Regions from separate parts of the Homo sapiens genome. Here region 1 is linked to region 2. Evidence: promoter capture Hi-C in human tissues and cell types (Jung and others, 2019). All regions are on one chromosome and are shown on one strand. The core of a region is centred on a gene start or on the middle of the fragment in contact, and the rest is flanking DNA. Distances in the headings are between cores, read along the strand shown. Region 1 has its middle 55 kb from the start of TOPAZ1. Region 2 holds the start of ZNF662 (zinc finger protein 662).

Region 1 (3,803 bases), core at 588-3,087, 1.3 Mb before region 2:
ATTGTAGAGAAGTCTTTTTAGGTCTCAGGATCCAAAGTGAATTTGTTTAGGATTATAAACTTTTCTAATGGAAATATTTAGTAGTGGTGGGGGTACCTACCACCTATGCTTTAGGGAAGACACTGGGGTCATTCTGGAAGACTCTTCCCATGGGATGGCTCCCAAGACATATGTGTCTGCATGGGGAAAGACTTTAGGTACTGAAAGCAAGACCATAGAGATCTCTCTAAAGAGGGCTGGATTCCAGGCTTTCCCACCCTAGCTTTTCTCCTGGTCTCTAGGGTCTCTGGGTTACACCCATAGCTTTTGTAGACCACAGATAACAATGGTAGGTAGGTAGAGATGAAGCACTTTGGGTTAACCCAACACTCCAGTTTATAATGATTTCTGGCTTGTCCTCATAGTGAATGTGGAGCTAAGTGATTAACAGCTACTTTGAAAATCAGCACCAAGATACTCAATTCTTAAATGACAAGGGGGCAGATGCTAAGGCTCTAGGCTCTAAAAAAAACAGCAAATGTTCCCCTTCTGTGGGGGGAAAAAGAGTGAGGAAAGAAGTAGCTTGCAAAGGTTTGCTAGTTTTGAAGATTAGCTTTTACCTTACATCACCCAACTCAAATTCCTGTGCTGCCCAGCCTGTGGGTAGGGCTTTGGCTTGAAGCTGCCAGATTACCTGGGAACTCTTAGCTTCTCAGCTGCTGTAAGCTGTGATGGCAGAACTCCCTCTTCTGACATATGATTTCTGTGCAAAGTTTGTTCTGTAATGCCTAGGAGTGCCTAGTACGGAGTGTGGCTCAGCACCTCTGACTATTCACTTGACTCCTGTCTCCTGAATCAGTTCCTCCGGCAAAGGGTTGGTGGCATCATTTGACAGAAAAAGGGCAAAGCTTCTGTACTTTGCTCCTGACCAGTCATCTAATTCTTAATTTACTAGGTTCAGTATCGCCTTCATATGTTGATGTGGGGGTGAATTCATTTTCTATTGCTATGTTATAAATTACCCCATAGCAGCTTAAAACATCAAACATTTATTATCTCACAGAGCTTTTGTGGGTCAGGAATCTGGGAGTGGCTTAGCCATTGGGCTCTGGCTCAGAGATTTTCATGAGCCTGCAGCCACACTGTCACCTGGCACTGTACTCATCTAAAGCCTGAAGTGAGAATGGAGTCTGCTTCCGAGTTCACTCACCTCGGCATTAGCTAGGCCTCAGTTACTTGCAGGCGGTTGGACTGCAGGCCTCAACTCCTCACTTGTTGTTGTCTGGAGGCTTCGGTTCTTTACCACTGGAGCCTATCCAGAGCTGTTGACTACATGGAAGCTTGCTTCTCCCAGAGGAATTGATTCAAGAAAAAGAGTGAGGGACAGAAGCCAGTCTTTTTATAACCTAGTCCCTTCTGCCATATGCTGTCAGACACAGGCCAATCCTGGTACAGTGTGGGAGGGGATTTTGCAAGGGTGTGAATACCAGGAGGTGGGGATTGTTGGGGACCATCGTAGAGACTGCCATCCACAGTGGCCATTGGAAGAAGAGCTTAGAATCAAATTCAGACACTGCTGTTGACCTGTCTTCATCTTTGGTGGCTCTCTAAAGTAGCCAGTGTGAATCTCAGTCTACAAACCCAGGTGTATAAAAATGAAACAGCTTTCATTTTGAGCCTTCCCGCCACTGGGCTTTAGGAAACTGTAACTTCCCTTTTTCTTGGGGGAGCCAAGGTATTGGGAGGGCTCTCCCTGGCTATGAGCATTTGTTAACCCATTTTCCTACTGTGATATCTAGTGTCCTGGGGGCTTTCTTCTGCTTTCAGGCTGTAGCTGGGAATTTATCAGCACAGCCATGTAGTATCTCATCTGCCTGGATGTTCCACAGCCCTTTCCTTTCTGAGGTCTGGCTGCTTCTCAGGTGGTTTTTCCTGGGAAATGGGAAACAGGTTGCCTCCACCATGGGACCCCCAGCCATCTTTGCTTGTTTTTACTTCCACATCCCAGAAAAACTCTTTTTAGGCTATTTCCTTCATTTTTCTGACCAAAATGTCTTTCTTGAGAATTCTACCCTGACCCCAGGGGATTTAAACTTTAGAAACAAGCCCTGTAGAGTCCTAGGTTACTGTGACTTCTGTCTTGAGGCAATGAACACAGGACTGCCTACGTTCTTGAAAGGCCAAAACACAGGAAGAAAAGAAGATGAAATATCCTGCCATGCCAGTGTGCTTTCTGTCCTTCAGGTGGCTGGACTGCACATTGCCTGGAGTCTCACCATCACGCCTTTGCTGTGCTGGCCCCAGGTTTGGCAGGCATATACACACCTGCCTGCAGCTCTGAGTCATGTGCTTCAGTCCCTCTCTTGATCTTGAGACTTGTCTCCTTTCTGACACCTTTATTCCCTGACCTCAAGCTCCAGAGATCATCATTCCTCATCCAGCATTTTATAGAACTCCCTTTCCCTCATTGCTTATTCTCTTTAACCTGCTCAGCATCAATTCAGAGATCACAAATTGACAGCCTATTTGCTGAATCTGTCCTGAAGATATAGTTTGACCCATGAAACTTCTTGTTTTTAATTTGAATTCATTGTCAGCATTTAACAACGGGCATTTCACATAAACTTGGGCTTCTGGTTTGCACTGAAAAGTCATATCTAGGAACAACAGACCCACATTCCCATGGAACAATAGTTGGCTGGTGCTGCAGCAGCCACCTTCCTTAGGTGGGTCCCGCTGTCTCCAGCTTGGCACTGTCTGCACCTGCCTGCTTTGCTCTTCTACCTGCTAGACCTGAGTCTGAGCCCCTTGCTCTAGTTTCTTGTGTAGTCACCTTGCCTCTTACAGGCTGATTGTCCTGGATGCTGCCCCTTTCAATATAATGATTGCCTTACATTGGGCTAAACTGGATACAAAGAGAAGGAAGTGAAAACCATGTCATCTACGTAATAAAAACTAGAAAGGGCATTAAAAAGCAATTGGCCCTGTCAGCTAATTTCATCTAGAAATTTTCTGCTAGAAGTTCAATTTACTCTCCAATATTTATCTGATTTAGGGAAGCAAGTACAAAAGCCCTGGGGCAAGGGTGTAGGAGGGGGCAAAGTAAACAAGAGAGAAAGTAGTAGGAGATGAGACCAGGGAGTTCACAGGAGGCTAGGGTGTGACTGCGCAGGTGAAAGGAAATGGTCGGGTTCTGGTTTGCCAAGAGATTGGCATTTCCATGGGCTCCATCAAAATGAGGTCTCCCAATCCATTCTGCACTATGGGGCTGAACGGGACTCCTGAAGCTCACTTTTGAGAACACTCGCAGGAGAAGATGTAAGCCCACCTTTGATTTCCCATGCTTCCCAGTCACCCTTTTGCAGAACCTGTGATCTGAAGACTCAGTAAGCTGAGCAGCATGCCTGAAGTCATAGTCAGCAAGTCCAGGTTTAGGCCTTGGCATCCAGAATACAGAATTTCTGGATTCTCCAGGGATGACCTTTGCCCCAGAAGCTGCCCAGGATCATTAGAGAATTGCAAGACCTCTGGGAGTTCTCTCCGTGGAGTGGAGTCTTTCCCTATCTCTCTCTGGCTGTTCAGGGCAACCCGGCAATTGTATAACCCATTTTCTTGACTCATAGCCCTAAATTTCCTTCTGCCCAGTTCTTTCTGTACCTCCTAGTTTCTCCTCGTGACATCCCTGTGTCTAGAATGGCTCCAGTATGAGCAGATTTGGCTTTGGAGGCTGTTTTGCAAACCAAAATGAAGAGCCTGCTTTCACGTGGCTTGCAGGAACACCCTGCGAGTGAGCTTCAGCAGCAGCAGTTGCTTCATTCAATCCT
Region 2 (3,316 bases), core at 5-2,504:
CACAGAGGCAGCTAGGGCTCCTCAGAACATTCAGGTTGCTCTGAACACTGTACTCAACAGGGCAGATCCTCGTTGTGACTTTACTCCCTGCACCCCCACCACCCGCAACACTCTCACAAAGATCCCACCTCACTTGCTTACCCACGTCCCAATCTCCATGTCCCCATTTTCTATATCTCTAGGAGTCTCAGCTCCTGCACCTTCTTTCTCTCATCCTCTTAAGAAACAAATACTGCTGACCTCCAGCCGTTGGGACTTCCCGTAATTCTCAGCCACTGCCTCCTTCAGGGTCTCAGTCTCCACACTGTGGAGGAGCCCATTCTGGTCCACTGCACTTCAGTCCTTGCGCACTAGAAAGTCTCCACAGCTATTTATCCAGCACTCCAGGGCTCCAAGGCTTTGGCTGGCTCAACTTTGTCTGCCTAATAGAGTCCACATTCCTCTGCACTACAGACAATTCCATTCACTACTCACAGACCCAGCTTTCCTGGCCAGGATCATCAGCCACCACCACTCTCATCTCCGATCCTCTCACCATTGCATTGGGAAACCAAACTCTTTCCTCACCCTGTTCTGTGTCCTTGCACCTGCGGCTACTCTTGCCTGAATATCCAGTTCTTCCTTCCTGCTCCTGCATTGCAAATTCCTTTTCAACCTAATACCCAGCTCAAACATAACCAGCTCTGTAAAGGCAGCTCTGAAATTCTGGCCATTCATCGCCCCCGACAGCACTCTGTGCGCTCTGCCCCAGCAGTCGGCTCAACCCCGTGCCGCTGCACGTCTGCTCTCCTTGAGGCTCAGGTCCAGGGGTGTCGACTCCGCTGTGCTGCCTGTCCCTCGAGGCCCCTCACTCTGGGTTGTACCCCCATTTCCCAGCCGCCGCACCACCCCGTCTCCGGGCCTAGAACCCAGGGCAGGGCCAAGACTGCTTCCAGGCTCCGGCCCCGCACTCACCCGGCGCGCCCGGGGCAGCGCGGGCTGTCCCGGGAGCAGCTCGAGGACAAGGCCGAGGCGTGTCCCGCTCGCCAGCGCCACGGCCGCCATAGCCCAGGTCGCCCTCTGGGAAAGCGAGGGCGCGCCAGACCGGACCAGAGGCTGTTGGGGTCGCGGAAGAGCGCTCTGCACCTGGGCAGGCCTGACACGGCTACCCTGCGCCCTGCAGCCACCGGAGTAAGACCCCGACTCCACTCCCTGCCCGCCCCACGCCCGACTCCCCGTGCTCCACACCCGCCAGGCCCCAGCATCCGGGAGGCCGGGGCTCGGGCCGCTCCGGTTGCTCTAGGACGGCGGAGGGCGCCGCATCTCTGTGGTCCTCCTTTCTCGCTCGGGGAGGGAGGGGAGAGCGGTCCGGTTCTCCTGGAGACACGGACGATCCCAGGGACCGCTACCGGGGTAGGGGTGCAGGCGGCTGGGGAGGAATCCTTCCCCTGCGCTCTAGGCCACCCCTTCCTCTCCAGCTCGCTGCACCCTAGGTGGACAGATATTTGCTGATAGGAGGTAGCGGGTACTTCACTAGACTGCACCTGCTCTTTTATCTCTCCTTTTACCAGTTTTTGCATTCCCAGAGCAGACCTGTATTTTATGTCTTTTAACATTCTCATCTTTGTGCCTCTAACATGCGCCCGATGTCTAGCACCTCCTGGGGAGTTATTTCTTTAACTGCCAAGGAATATTTGTAGAATTGTCCACGAAAAGTCAAACTGTAAAATATTTGAAGGGATTTATCCTGAGCCAAATATGAGTGACCATGGCCCGTGCCACAGCCCCAGGAGATCCTGAGAACATGTGCCCAACGTGGTCGGGCTACAACTTGGTTTTACACATTTTAGGAAGACATAAGACATCAATTAATACATGTAAGATGTACGTTGGTTCGGTATGGAAAGGTGGGACAACTGGAAGAGGAGGCTTTCAGGACATAGGTGGATTCAAAGATTTTCTGAGTGGCAATTGGTTGAAAGAGTTAAGTTATTGTATAAAGACTTAGAATCAATAGAAAGGGATGTCTCAGTTAAGATAAGGGCTTGTGGAGACCAAAGTTTTATCATGCAGATGGAGCCTGTAGCAGGCTTCAGAGAATAGACTGCAAATGTTTCTCATCATTATCACACTACCGGATAGTCTGTGAGACTTAAAGAGGCTGTTCTATCAGTCTTAAGGTCTGTGTTGATGTTAATGCTGGTCAGCTGGTCCTGAATTTCAAAAGGTAGGGGAGCATAATGAGCCATGTCCAACTCCTCCTTCCCATTATGGCCTGAACCAGTTTTTCACGTTAACTTTGGAATGCCCTTAGCCAAGAGGAGAGATCCATTCATATGGTCAGAGGGCTTTGAATTTTATTTTTGGCTTACGGAATAAAAGAATGAATAAATGTTGAACCAGTTTTTCAGTTGAAGAAAGTAAGGCCCAAAGAGAGAAAATGGCTTACCTAACATTATGCAACATGCCAGGAAATTAAATTTTTTAAGAAGTGTGAAAATAAAGATTATTCAAATGAGAACAAAGACTATTATTCAGAGCTTGCTATATATGACAAGAGAGTCAGCCCTCATCACTTGCATTCAGCAGACTGAAAGTCAGGCAGAAGAGTGGGGAAAGCTTCACAGTGGAAAAAAGGAATGGCTTCAGGTATTCCCTTATTGGAAGTTGCTGGCATGGGGAAACTACAGGCGGGCTAACTAGAAGCAGGGAATCTTATGTAATTGGTAGGGGGAAATTTTTGGCTTTCTCTGTTTGGTCCTAAGTTGGAAGTAGTATGGGAAAAAGTAGGGAATCTGATAGTTTTTAATCAAATTGCTACCCCATCTCTACAAAAATAAAAAAAGAAAGAAAGAAAGAAATAAAGAAAAATAGCCAGCTCCTGGCTACTCAGAAGTCTGAGATGGGAGGATCACTTGAGCCTGAGAAGTCAAGGCTGCAGTGAGCTGTGATTGCACCATTGCACTCCAGCAAGAACCTGGAAAGAAGAAAGAGAAGAAGAGAAAAGAGAAGAGAAGGAAAGAGGAAGGAAGGAAAGGAGGGAGGGAAAGAAAGAAAGAGTGGGAGGGAGAGAGGGAAAGAAAGAAGAGACGAAGGAAGGAAGGGAAGGAGGGAAAGAGAGAGAGAGAAAGAAAGAAAAAGAGAGAGAAAGAAAAAGAAAGGAAGGAAGGAGAAGGGAAGAAGGAAGGAAGGAAAAGGAAGGGAGGAAGGAAGGAGGGAAGGAAGGAGGGAAGGGAGGGAGAGAGGAAGGAAGGAGAAGGGAAGAAGGAAGGAAGGAAAAGGGAGGGAGGAAGGAAGGAAGGAGGGAAGGAAGGAAGGAGGGGAGGGAGGGAGGGAG

The links. Contacts are between HindIII fragments. The study calls those that stand out against the background at their distance.
Region 1: a fragment that was not itself captured here is called in contact with the fragment with the promoter of ZNF662 in region 2 in 1 of the 25 tissues and cell types used here (spleen).

The regions. Positions count from the first base shown.
Region 1 is chr3:44,184,776-44,188,578 of GRCh38, reverse strand. No RefSeq gene overlaps it. Among named protein-coding and RNA genes, the nearest start is that of TOPAZ1, 55 kb to the left of the region's middle. The HindIII fragment of the contact is 3,523 bases long and covers 76-3,598 here.
Region 2 is chr3:42,904,080-42,907,395 of GRCh38, reverse strand. ZNF662 (zinc finger protein 662) reads right to left here and starts at 1,254. Exons shown (of 5, transcript NM_207404.4): 1 at 1,228-1,254. The HindIII fragment of the contact is 13,922 bases long and covers 1-3,316 here.